Regions from separate parts of the Homo sapiens genome. Here region 1 is linked to region 2. Evidence: promoter capture Hi-C in 16 types of primary human blood cells and fetal thymus (Javierre and others, 2016). All regions are on one chromosome and are shown on one strand. The core of a region is centred on a gene start or on the middle of the fragment in contact, and the rest is flanking DNA. Distances in the headings are between cores, read along the strand shown.

Region 1 (6,869 bases), core at 1,240-3,739, 130 kb before region 2:
TTTGAATGGCTATTTTTATCCCTAAAAATGCCCGGTTACTTTATTCTTCCTGGGGCTGTCCCAAGCCTGGGTACTTGCACCACCAAGACACCGTGGCTTATCTGTGGCTGCTGCATAGCTACAGGGGCTGCAGAATTGGGAGGTCTAGGGACTGCCAAAGGATTGGACACATTGCAGCACCACCACGTGACATGCTTTCCATTTGTAATTCTGTTACTGATTTGCGTTTCCCAATGAAAGGCATCCTTGCACTCAGAGACAGGAAGCTATAAGAAGTGATTTCAATTCTGTTATAATTGGCCAGGTTATGGGGCAAGGTATTTTAGTTTCTGTCTTGTTCTCTTCCTTTGCTAAAGAGGAGCTTGGACTGAGGATTTTTTAGTTTCCTACCCTGGTCATGCATTCTATGATTTTGTGTAGTTTATCGTTAGTTATCCAGTAACTTACAATGTTGTCTTGTGTTTGGAGTTTCATGGTTGTCTTGTTGGTTTCTTTTTGTTTGGTTTTGGTACTTCTGTCCTCACAATCCTAAGGAACACAGTATTAGGCAGAAGCTTCCCTCATGTCTTTAAACAAGCAGGCCAGTCTGGGTGCGCTTACAAAAGGCACAGACCCTATTGCACAGCAATCATGTTTTCTAAGGTCAGAGTGAAAGCTAGAAGACAATTGGCTGGGAGATGTTGCCTGGGAAAATTCGCAGAGTCCTCTCACATACTTTTACATTATCCTCCAAAGTGCCTCAAGTTCTATTTATTCTTACAGCACTGAAATAACCCCAGCATACCTCTGAAACAGTGCAAGAAAGAGTCTCTTTTTGACTTCGCCATGTATGGTTTCAATCTGACAGTTTCCATTTTCATATCACATGCTGTTCCTGCATTGGGTTCTCACAGGCCTGACATATAGCCATGTCTCCCCCAAAAGGGTAAGGGATGCTTGCTGGGAAGAGGCACATAGAAATTCCATCCAATTACTTGAGGGTTTTATTCTTAACATAGCACTGAATAGTTTAATATCTCTTCTTTCCTGTTATAAATAGGTTCTGATGCCTATCACTGTAGCTCACTGAGAAAGAATGCAAACAGTCCCAGGAATGAAATACTCAGGAAGGCTGTTCTGCTTGGTAGGAGGTATTTTATTTTAAATGACAACATTTTCCTCTCAGACACAGAGAAAGCCTTACATTTTTGACCTGTGAGTTTCTCCTCTTTAGGAATGACATGATGTTTCATATGAGAAAAAGGCAAAAGAAACAAAGAAGGAGGAAGTGACATCAGTAATAATAACGTGCTAAAATAATATCTTTCTTTCCTCAGCTTTTTTTTTTTTCAAGTTGGAGTCTTGCTCTGTCACCCAGGCTAGAGTCCAGTGGCACGATCTCGGCTCACTGCAACCTCTGCCTCCCGGGTTCAAGCGATTCTCCTGCCTCAGCCTCCTGAGTAGCTGGTATTACAGGTTCCTGCCACCACACCCAGCTAATTTTTGTATTTTTAGTAGAGACAGGGTTTCACTATGTTGGCCAGGCTGGTCTCGAACTCCTGACCTCGTGATTTGCCCTTCTCAGCCACCCAAAGTGTTGGGATTATAGGCGTGAGCCACCGCACCCGGCCTCCTCAGCTGGTCTTCAAAGGAGCATTCGTTACTGTGACCAAATCTGTGTGTTCATGCTGCATTCTCCCGGAGCAAATATCATCCATGTGAAGGTCTGTTCAGAAGGACACCTAGAAAGGGCCAACAACATGAAGCAAGTGGAAGCACATTATAAAAGGCATGAATTTGAATCCATAGCATTGATAAAAAATCTCAGGAAGAGGGTTGCGCCGAGAGGCTCATGCCTGTAATCCTGAAACTTTGGGAGGCCAAGGTGGGTGGATCACCTGAGGTCAGGAGTTCAAGACCAGCCTAGCCAACATGGTGAAACCCTGTCTCTACTAAAAATACAAAAATTAGCCGGGCGTGCTGGCTCATGCCTGTAGTCTCAGCTACTCGGGTGTCTGAGGCAGGAGAATCGCTTGAACCTGGGAGGCAGAGGTTGCAGTGAGCTGAGATTGTGCCACTGCACTCCAGCCTAGGCAACAGAGTGAGAATCGGTCTCAAAAAAAAATCATCACAGGAACATAGTTTCAGAAGATAGACTTGTTCTTTTTCTCCTATACAAGGAAATGTAGATGTGAGAAATGATCTGTATGTATTATTACCTAAACAGATTTTTTTGTTGAATGGATACCAACCAATGCAGCATGTAAGAAACAAATACATGAAGACAGCTACAATTATAAAATTTCCTGGTTTAATTATCGTAAGTTATCAGATATTTGTAGAGGGGATAATGAGGTTTTGATTTCTGAGTGTAGAAATATTTCTCATTCCTGCTACAAGATAAGGAGAAGGCCCCTGATAAAATTTTATGTCTCTTGATTGTAGTAACAAAATATGATTCTAAAGAGTTTCTATGTCCTTTAAAGTCAGATAAAACTTACCTTTCCCCAAGATTGCCATATCTCAAACTCAGCTGCACATGACAGTAATCTCCAGTTTTTGCATGACTGCAATTCTTTTTTTGACCTGAGTCCCTAGTTCTGCCATTAGAAGGTTGTAAGCTGTGTGCATTTCTGAATGTATACCATTTTAGTAATTCTGGATCTTTTGAAGCATGTTAGAATAAAGAAAGTATTCAGAGCTGATGATATATAGAAATATCTAAACACACAAAAATGATGTTAAATGATGTTTGATTTTGAACAGTATGATAAAGAGTTTTGAATTATAGGCTGGCCCATATTTATAGTAAAAATCAGATTTCTAATGATACCCCCCAAATAGCTATGTCTGTAATCTGTAACAAATGACATTTTTCTTGAAATCATAAATAGGAAATTATTTGAACACTTATCCTAAGAGTTTTTCAGTTGGCTCTTGGTCTAAGAAACATAAACCTATCCAAAATCAGGGAAATATAAGTGCAGTAGTAGTATTGGAGTCTTGAAACATTCCAAAAAAGCAACATACTAAGTTTGTTTTGCTAGTTCAATCTGACTGTGTCAATCAAACCCTAATGACTTGCACACACAAAGGTTTTATTTCAGGCACTTGAAATTTTTACATAAAGTTAATAGAGTATCTAAACAAAGTTGTTTTTAAATTGAATCTTCTAAACTGCTTTTACTTTCCTCTTTCCTTTCAATGACAGCATCCATGTTATTAATAATTATCATCCTCACCCAGGTCTAGCAGATACACAAAGTGGCTATTAAAATGCTTATAAAGTTGACTCTGCTCCTATAACAAGCATATACACATGACTATTTTCCCCTAATCTCAATATACTCTTCAAATAATTTCTATTGAAGTGAGCTCATTTCTGTTTCATGGCATTTGGGATGTTTAGCATGACCCTCATCAATCCAGCCCTAAGAGGTCATTTTTCTCCTGGCCAATTAATTACTCAGTAAGGCTGTGCCATCTGCAACCAAAATATCCAAATAAAATAAACATTTTGAGAATTACATACAATGTGGTTAATCATTGTACTCATGATATTGACTCATGTACCTATAAAGTCTAAATCTAAAGAATAGAAATTCTTTATCAAAAGCCATCTTGACCCACGTGTCTTTAAAAAATACAATGGAAATTCGAAGAGCAGAATAATTAGAAAGCAGAAAATGTAAAGGCAGAGTTTCAAAGTGACCCAGATCCATACTGGAGGTCAGTCTACCTTTACAGTTTCCTCATACAAAAAATAGAAAGAGAAGGCAGCCAGGCGCGGTGGCTCATGCCTATAATCCTAGCACTTTGGGAGGCTGAGGTGGGTGGATTACGAGGTCAGGAGATCGAGACCATCCTGGCTAACACGGTGAAACCCCACCTCTACTAAAAATACAAAAAAAATTAGCTGAGCATGGTGACACCCGCCTGTAGTCCCAGCTACTTGGGAGGCTGAGGCAGGAGAATTGCTTGAACTTGGGCGACAGAATGAGACTCTGTCTCAAAAGAAAAAGAAAAATAGAAAGAGACACCTTTAGTCCATTTTCCCTTGTCAAAGTAGACAGAGATCATTTAAAATCTGGAACTCTTTAGGTTTTAAATCAAGAAACCAAATACCTACAACATGGTACCTTATGATAGATGAGAAGTACAGTAAGTCATGTTAGAAGGTGCGGTGTATAAAGCCATGTGGGGATCTGAATAATAGACTGACCTTTCTAATTAATATTAAAGCAGTTCGGCTGCTAAACAAATGGAAATAACTGAAAATAGTCATACTACCAAGTTACAAGCAAAAGCTATTAAAATATGCTTTTCCCCCACATATACAGACATTTCAAATGGATGTAACTGCACAGAGAGGTATGAGCCAGTAAAAAGCAGACAATAATTAGTAAGTTGTCTTATATAAAAATTAGAACAATCTTGAAAGCTTGCACTTTATACTTGGGAAGGATGAGCTTTGATCTTAATTTCAGTTAAAAGCCACTATTACAGGTACTATTTCCTTTTATTTGTTTAAACTTTTAAAAACCAATGTCAGCAATTTCACATTCTCTCTTATACCTGGAAAAGTGCTGGTTGAAACTTACAGGTTATCTTTCAGTCCTTTACTCATTTCACTTTTTATCTCTAAATGAAAAGTTGGGAAAATAGTCTCTCCACTAAGAGTATCTTCAGTATACTCCTTGTTTATCTATTTCATCGTGGCTATATAGTTTCCTGGGTTTCAGACATACCACAATGTAAAAGTTGTGAAAACCCTTTAACATACAGACTGTGCTTTTTGCATGCCGAGAAGGGAAACCATACAAAGAGTGTTTCCAAAAGAAGTGTTGATGTCTCGGGGAAGAATGTGGAGGAAGTTTCCAAACAGGAAGACAAAATGTCCTTTCAGACAACTTAGGATATCATTTGGTAAAGACATAGCATGAAGATATGAAAGGTCATAAGAAGTTTGACAAATATTTTTAATTTTTGGAGAAGACAAAATGAGAAAAAAATGAGTATAAACGGTATCAGTGAAGAGGTCTATAAAACATTAAAAAATAAACCTTTATTATTTTCTCATAAGCAATATTGCTGAGTATCCTTTTATGTGCTTAGCATTTTATTTGGTTTTGCAGGGGACTCAGAGGTTTTGACACAATCACTTCCCTCAAAGAGTTTACATGTGTACATAAAATTAATAAAACAGGGCAAGGAGAGATGAAATAAGGTTGTGACTGTGACACTAATAATATGTGTACTAGGACTCAGCAAAAGAACAAATAGGAAGTCAAGAGTTGTCAGGGAATTAGACATGGCGAAGGAAAGACTTGAGCTGGACCCTGAACGTAAGTAGAAGCTGATTGCAGAAGATTGAGAAAGGGTTGGGGAGGGGTTATACAAAGGGGAAGACTGGAATTTCCAAAGCCCATACAGAACCCAACATGGTGAATAAGAAGAGATTACTGAGGGTACTGGTGTGCATGGAGAAAGGCCACATGTTGGGAAATGAAAGGATATTATGTTGGAAGGGTAGAGTGAAGTTATATATAATCCAAACAGGACTAAAACCCTATGTGATAAGTGATGAAGGGCCACTGTGCTTTCTTTAATACAACTTAGGCCATGAGTAAGAAAAGCATTTTTTTGAAATTTTTACAGGACTCTTAAAATGTTTCAACAACTGGGACTTGTTCAGGAAAATGTTCTAAGTATTTATAACCTAAATCCTAAATTTTTGTAGATAAATGTGATTATTTTTACCTAGGCCTGTATCTTATTCTAGTAGCACAAATTTTGCTGCCTAATTCTGTAGGATACTTTATGGTATTCCATAAAACCTACTGGAGAATTATTCTATGCATACTTCTATAGAGGTTAAAGTTCATCTAAGGCCATACCACCCTGAACGCACCCAGTATCGTCTGATCTTGGAAGAATTTAGTTATATATAGATTCAACATAAATATACTTATTCAGTCTGTCATTCATTAATTAATTCATTCCACATTTACTTAGCACTCTGTCTCCCTCTCTTTCTGCCAAGTATTCTACTTAGTACAGAGGATGTAAAGAAAAAAAATTAGTTCTTGACTTCTATGAGTCTGGTGGGAGATTATAAACAGATAAAAAACTGAGTATAATCTAAGTAAAAGTTCACTGTAGCACCTATTTTTTTTCTTTTTTTTTTTGAGATGGAGTCTCTCTGTCGCCCAGGCTGGAGTACAGTGGCACTATCTCGGCTAACTGCAAACTCTGCCTTCCAGGTTCACGCCATTCTCCTGCCTCAGCCTCCCGAGTAGCTGGGACTACAGGCGCCCGCCACCATGCCCGGCTAATTTTTTTTTTTTTTTGTATTTTTAGTAGAGACAGGGTTTCACCGTAGTCTCGATCTCCTGACCTCGTGATCCGCCCACCTTGGCCTCCCAAAGAGCTGGGATTACAGGCGTGAGCCACCGCGCCCGGCCTGCAGCACCTATTTTAATAAGGAAGAGAGTTTTGTTTTCAGTAGCTTCTTATCAGAGATCAAATACAAAACACATAACATTCCAGGATGTCACAAGAGTCACATTTCTGTAAAAGCTTCTACTCAATGCTGCTTATCATAATGTCACAATGTCAGAATGCACAGATGGCTTGTTTGACCTGGAAGGCTCTGTACAGGTGGTGATGGTGGGCTGAGTGTCTAGAAGGAATGCAGGTGCCCTAGATACCTGGCCCAATCTTGGAAAACAATGATAACAATGGGGTTTGTACCTTTCTGCCCCCAGAAACTCTTGGAAAATACCTGCTGCAGCAACTGTGGGACCACTGTTAGCCTTAGTTCTACCAAAGGAGAGTACCTCTAAACAAGGAAAGAAATTATGCAGTGTCATTCCTTTAGGCCATCTATA
Region 2 (6,936 bases), core at 2,406-4,905:
CAGAAACCTCCCCCTGACCCACCATAAGGACAAATCGCTCACTGTCCAGATGCCCATATACGGCCAGACTTCCTCCTATAAGTCTGACAGCTCCGTGTATGCATTGCGTATGGGTCTTGGCTCTGAGTCACATTCCTCCGGCATGTTTCCCTGGGAGCTTTGATTTCCGCTTTGAGGGCTGGCACTGACTCCTACTTGCTCTTATAAGAAAATGTCTACAACTAAAAGTTGAAAATGTGCAAGATTCCTTCTTTAAGTACACAAACACTCCAACTCTGGCCACTTTTCTGTAGTCCTGCCAGGTTTTCTCTGTGTCTGATACCTGATCAAGAAACCTTTTTTTTTTAGGGAGGAAAAAACAACAAAAAACTTAAGGGAAGGAATGTAATACATCCACAGCTGAACATCTTACAAGACTTAACCAAACGACCAGTACAAATGATGCCCTAGTAGACACACACACATACCTTATATAGCTTGGTAAACAGGACTCAGTGGCCAGCTTAGTTAATTCCTCATTTTACCACGAGGAAAAAATGCTCTCTAAAAAGCATTTGCTAGATAAATACTTGCTTACAAGTCAAAATTAGTGCATCTTAACCATTTTGCACACAAATTCAAAGATCTTTTTCTCCCAACTCTGACCTGCTGTCAATCAAAGGGGCTGGGGTAAGTCAAAGTTGGATGAAGTTATAAGAAGCCACTATTTCCCACTTTACCGCCCAGGCACACACAAACATTTGCTGAGTCATTGATAATAGTGCAAGAATTCAGATCCCATGGCATGAATTATGGATGGAGTATCAGCCTTTCCCTTTGAGTTTCCTGGCATTTGATGGTCCATATCACAATAAAAACATACTTCTGAGTCTGTGAATGTCTTGGGTGTCTTCTCTCATTCTCTCTCTCTCTGGGTGTGTGTGCATGTATGTGTCTGTCTGTCTCTGTGTCACTCTCTTAATAATAGTCTTTTAACTCCTTCAAAAAGAGTTTTGATCATAAAGCCTCAATCTAACCTGATAATGCACAGAAACTTTTTCTTTCCTGAGATTTCATATGTTCTATATATTTCAATATGCTTATTTCCTCTTAAGCAACATTAAAATCATCTATTTGGAACTGACTATAGATTTTTTTGAGACTTCGAGGGACTATGAGAATTTTATAGTAAAACCAAATTCTTTCTTTTGACATTTTTAACAACAGAGCAGAATGGTAATATACTTATTATACACAGAGATTGAAAAAAAATCAAGAAAATCTGAAAAAAATAAAGCACCAATTCCCTGGAATTTTCATCTACTCAGCCCTCACTGAACCCTATTAAATTAAAAAAATTATGATTACTTTCATTTTTTAAACAGAAATGGGAATATGGCTCCTACGTGTGACTTCCCTGAGATCTGCGAAAGGCAGTTCCAAGAATACAACCTAGGCCATCTAACTATAACCCAGTACAACAATTTATCCCCTCCATGAATGAGTCTCCCTGCTGCAGGCATGAAGATGGTGGTAGCTTTCAGACTCTCCTGAGGATTCAGAAATTCCCCAACCCTTCTCCCACCTACCTCACTCTGCAAGCTAGGAGAGCTCACCACCAAGCCCACATCCCACCTTAGGTGAGACTCGCACTGCACATCCCTACCCTTCCCCAGCCACCACACCTTTCCAACCATTAGAGGTAGATGTAATTGGGGGTTTAGGTCTTGAAAGGTTTCACTGTGGCTTCCCACATATTTTGGACTTTTAAAATCATCCACAAGGGAAGAAAAAGTTGAGGGCCAAGTTGCCTTTAATACACATGTGGCTATTAAGTTAACTTGGAATGTTCCTTCTTTAAATAGGAACTCTTAGGCCTCTTCTTTTTGAGGAATGCTTGGAAAGGACATTAAATAACAATGACGAAAATTCTTCCTGAGCTTCAGAGGGCACCCCCACCCCTTTGCTGGCCATTCACACTATTGACATGCAACTACACTCTATAACATGTGGCTGGCTTAACGAGGTAATCGTGCACAGATGATATGCTCTATGCTGAAGTTGGAGTGGTTATATTTCTTCTTGGCTATTTTTCAACAGACTGTACTGAAACTTTAAAAATTTGATCAGTTTAAACAGGCTGTTTTCAAATGATAAATCTATAATGCATTGTTTCTAAAGCCGATCTTTGCACCACAAACAGATATGCTTATCTTGAACCCATGCTCTGAAGCATCAACAACTTAAAGGAATCTACTCATTGGTAACACCAATGTCAAATGATGCGGCATTACAGAATACAAAAATGGTATGGCCCTAGAATCACTCTCTTTATATAAAATGGGAACTGGAGGTATTAACAAAAAAGCCACTAAACAACATAGATTCCAAATGAAAGCACAGTGAATTAGTTGGGTCTTTAGTGAAGCTAAGTAGCACTATATTAAGAAATGGAGATATGCTTAGGTTTATTGGCCATATTCAACATCTGCACACACCCAGGGAGAATAAAGCCTATTCTTTCCTTGTCCTGACCTCACTCCCTCAGGCTGCATGTTCCTTGGGTAATGAGAAGTCACAATCACTATTCATAGATGTGTGGGGAGTCACTAAAAATATATTATTCACTGTCAATCTTAGTTTATATCCAGATACAACAGGGTACACTGCTCTTGTAATGGAATCAGACTTCTTATTTTAACAAGACAAACCAAATCCAATCCACATTTGAAGATTATAGGTTTTAATATAAGAAAATGCACTCATTTCTCAAAGACCCTAGTGAAGCTGTGTTTAAATGCTCCTAGGTGAACCCCCTTTGCATCCCAGTGTTCCCACCCTGACACCCAGAGCCCCTACCTACCCAACACAGAATCATTTGCTCTGATAGAACAATGGATCCCTTTTTCTGGAAACATTGATGGCCACTCCTCCCTTGTCCTTGCCTATATAAAACTCCTACATATATTAAGAGAAAACTAAGCAAGAGTTTTGGAAATCTGCCCCAGGAGACTGCATCCTGAGTCACACGCGTCTTTGTTCTCTTTCTTGTCCCAAAACCGTTACCTCAAGTGACAAATGATCAAATCTCAAATATAGAATTCAGGGTTTTACAGGTAGGCATCTTGAGGATTTCAAATGGTTAAAAGCAACTCACTCCTTTTCTACTCTTTGGAGAGTTTCAAGAGCCTATAGCCTCTAAAACGCAAATCATTGCTAAGGGTTGGGGGGGAGAAACCTTTTCGAATTTTTTAGGAATTCCTGCTGTTTGCCTCTTCAGCTACCTACTTCCTAAAAAGGATGTATGTCAGTGGACAGAACAGGGCAAACTTATTCGAAAAAGAAATAAGAAATAATTGCCAGTGTGTTTATAAATGATATGAATCAGGAGTGGTGCGAAGAGGATAGGGAAAAAAAAATTCTATTTGGTGCTGGAAATACTGCGCTTTTTTTTTTCCTTTTTTTTTTTTTCTGTGAGCTGGAGTGTGCCAGCTTTTTCAGACGGAGGAATGCTGAGTGTCAAGGGGTCAGGATCAATCCGGTGTGAGTTGATGAGGCAGGAAGGTGGGGAGGAATGCGAGGAATGTCCCTGTTTGTGTAGGACTCCATTCAGCTCATTGGCGAGCCGCGGCCGCCCGGAGCGTATAAAAGCCTCGGGCCGCCCGCCCCAAACTCACACAACAACTCTTCCCCGCTGAGAGGAGACAGCCAGTGCGACTCCACCCTCCAGCTCGACGGCAGCCGCCCCGGCCGACAGCCCCGAGACGACAGCCCGGCGCGTCCCGGTCCCCACCTCCGACCACCGCCAGCGCTCCAGGCCCCGCCGCTCCCCGCTCGCCGCCACCGCGCCCTCCGCTCCGCCCGCAGTGCCAACCATGACCGCCGCCAGTATGGGCCCCGTCCGCGTCGCCTTCGTGGTCCTCCTCGCCCTCTGCAGCCGGGTAAGCGCCGGGAGCCCCCGCTGCGGCCGGCGGCTGCCAGGGAGGGACTCGGGGCCGGCCGGGGAGGGCGTGCGCGCCGACCGAGCGCCGCTGACCGCCCTGTCCTCCCTGCAGCCGGCCGTCGGCCAGAACTGCAGCGGGCCGTGCCGGTGCCCGGACGAGCCGGCGCCGCGCTGCCCGGCGGGCGTGAGCCTCGTGCTGGACGGCTGCGGCTGCTGCCGCGTCTGCGCCAAGCAGCTGGGCGAGCTGTGCACCGAGCGCGACCCATGCGACCCGCACAAGGGCCTATTCTGTCACTTCGGCTCCCCGGCCAACCGCAAGATCGGCGTGTGCACCGGTAAGACCCGCAGCCCCCACCGCTAGGTGTCCGGCCGCCTCCTCCCTCACGCCCACCCGCCCGCTGGAAAAAGAAACCGCTCGGACTGAGTTTCTTTCTCCAGCTGCTGCCAGCCCGCCCCCTGCAGCCCAGATCCCAACTCGCATCCCTGACGCTCTGGATGTGAGAGTGCCCCAATGCCTGACCTCTGCATCCCCCACCCCTCTCTTCCCTTCCTCTTCTCCAGCCAAAGATGGTGCTCCCTGCATCTTCGGTGGTACGGTGTACCGCAGCGGAGAGTCCTTCCAGAGCAGCTGCAAGTACCAGTGCACGTGCCTGGACGGGGCGGTGGGCTGCATGCCCCTGTGCAGCATGGACGTTCGTCTGCCCAGCCCTGACTGCCCCTTCCCGAGGAGGGTCAAGCTGCCCGGGAAATGCTGCGAGGAGTGGGTGTGTGACGAGCCCAAGGACCAAACCGTGGTTGGGCCTGCCCTCGCGGGTGAGTCGAGTCTTCCTCTAAGTCAGGGTCGTGATTCTCTCCCAGGGAGGGAGTCCTAACTGTGCCGACCGAACGGGGGAAATACCTTATCCAGGCGTTTTACATGGTGTTTGTGTGCTCTGCTCTCGCAGCTTACCGACTGGAAGACACGTTTGGCCCAGACCCAACTATGATTAGAGCCAACTGCCTGGTCCAGACCACAGAGTGGAGCGCCTGTTCCAAGACCTGTGGGATGGGCATCTCCACCCGGGTTACCAATGACAACGCCTCCTGCAGGCTAGAGAAGCAGAGCCGCCTGTGCATGGTCAGGCCTTGCGAAGCTGACCTGGAAGAGAACATTAAGGTACATGTTCTGCTCCTATTAACTATTTTTCACAGGAAAAACAGTGGATAGGACCCAACTTAGGGCTCTTGCCACGCTTGTTAGTATAAGCCCGTTATCTCCAAAACTATCTAACCATTGAGCTGTTTTGCTGGAATGAGAGCTTGTGTAATAGCAACCACCAGTTTTCCACTACGAAATCTTCCACAGGGTTAGTTAATTCAAGACATTCCAAGAGAGGCTCTGGCTATTTTTGGACATAGCAAATGAGACTCAAACTTCCTCCCCTCAAAATATAAACAGAAGTCAGACAACAGAAGACTAAAACACAGAGGGTTGAAGAAAGCCACTCCTCTTGTAGAGTCGCTGATTTTTTTTTTTCCTCTCTCTTTTCCCTTGTCTTCCTTAGAAGGGCAAAAAGTGCATCCGTACTCCCAAAATCTCCAAGCCTATCAAGTTTGAGCTTTCTGGCTGCACCAGCATGAAGACATACCGAGCTAAATTCTGTGGAGTATGTACCGACGGCCGATGCTGCACCCCCCACAGAACCACCACCCTGCCGGTGGAGTTCAAGTGCCCTGACGGCGAGGTCATGAAGAAGAACATGATGTTCATCAAGACCTGTGCCTGCCATTACAACTGTCCCGGAGACAATGACATCTTTGAATCGCTGTACTACAGGAAGATGTACGGAGACATGGCATGAAGCCAGAGAGTGAGAGACATTAACTCATTAGACTGGAACTTGAACTGATTCACATCTCATTTTTCCGTAAAAATGATTTCAGTAGCACAAGTTATTTAAATCTGTTTTTCTAACTGGGGGAAAAGATTCCCACCCAATTCAAAACATTGTGCCATGTCAAACAAATAGTCTATCAACCCCAGACACTGGTTTGAAGAATGTTAAGACTTGACAGTGGAACTACATTAGTACACAGCACCAGAATGTATATTAAGGTGTGGCTTTAGGAGCAGTGGGAGGGTACCAGCAGAAAGGTTAGTATCATCAGATAGCATCTTATACGAGTAATATGCCTGCTATTTGAAGTGTAATTGAGAAGGAAAATTTTAGCGTGCTCACTGACCTGCCTGTAGCCCCAGTGACAGCTAGGATGTGCATTCTCCAGCCATCAAGAGACTGAGTCAAGTTGTTCCTTAAGTCAGAACAGCAGACTCAGCTCTGACATTCTGATTCGAATGACACTGTTCAGGAATCGGAATCCTGTCGATTAGACTGGACAGCTTGTGGCAAGTGAATTTGCCTGTAACAAGCCAGATTTTTTAAAATTTATATTGTAAATATTGTGTGTGTGTGTGTGTGTGTATATATATATATATGTACAGTTATCTAAGTTAATTTAAAGTTGTTTGTGCCTTTTTATTTTTGTTTTTAATGCTTTGATATTTCAATGTTAGCCTCAATTTCTGAACACCATAGGTAGAATGTAAAGCTTGTCTGATCGTTCAAAGCATGAAATGGATACTTATATGGAAATTCTGCTCAGATAGAATGACAGTCCGTCAAAACAGATTGTTTGCAAAGGGGAGGCATCAGTGTCCTTGGCAGGCTGATTTCTAGGTAGGAAATGTGGTAGCCTCACTTTTAATGAACAAATGGCCTTTATTAAAAACTGAGTGACTCTATATAGCTGATCAGTTTTTTCACCTGGAAGCATTTGTTTCTACTTTGATATGACTGTTTTTCGGACAGTTTATTTGTTGAGAGTGTGACCAAAAGTTACATGTTTGCACCTTTCTAGTTGAAAATAAAGTGTATATTTTTTCTATAAAGGGCTTGGTTATTCATTTATCCTTCTAAACATTTCTGAGTTTTCTTGAGCATAAATAGGAAGTTCTTATTAATCATAAGATAATT

The links. Contacts are between HindIII fragments. The CHiCAGO score rates a contact against its expected background, and 5 or more counts as called.
Region 1: a contact is called between a fragment that was not itself captured here and the fragment with the promoter of CCN2 in region 2, in 1 of 17 cell types (endothelial precursors). The highest score is 5.0, in endothelial precursors.

What each region holds. Positions count from the first base shown.
Region 1 is chr6:132,079,202-132,086,070 of GRCh38, reverse strand. The region is part of intron 2 of CCN2-AS1 (CCN2 antisense RNA 1); the gene reads right to left. Among named protein-coding and RNA genes, the nearest start is that of MIR548AJ1, 33 kb to the left of the region's middle. RefSeq lists an enhancer at 569-748. The HindIII fragment of the contact is 3,866 bases long and covers 557-4,422 here.
Region 2 is chr6:131,948,091-131,955,026 of GRCh38, reverse strand. It overlaps CCN2 (cellular communication network factor 2), which reads left to right and starts at 3,655. Exons shown (of 5, transcript NM_001901.4): 1 at 3,655-3,920; 2 at 4,035-4,257; 3 at 4,484-4,735; 4 at 4,867-5,078; 5 at 5,467-6,851. The coding sequence starts at 3,855. The coding sequence ends at 5,763. All of the region lies in intron 2 of CCN2-AS1 (CCN2 antisense RNA 1), which reads right to left. The HindIII fragment of the contact is 12,519 bases long and covers 1-6,513 here.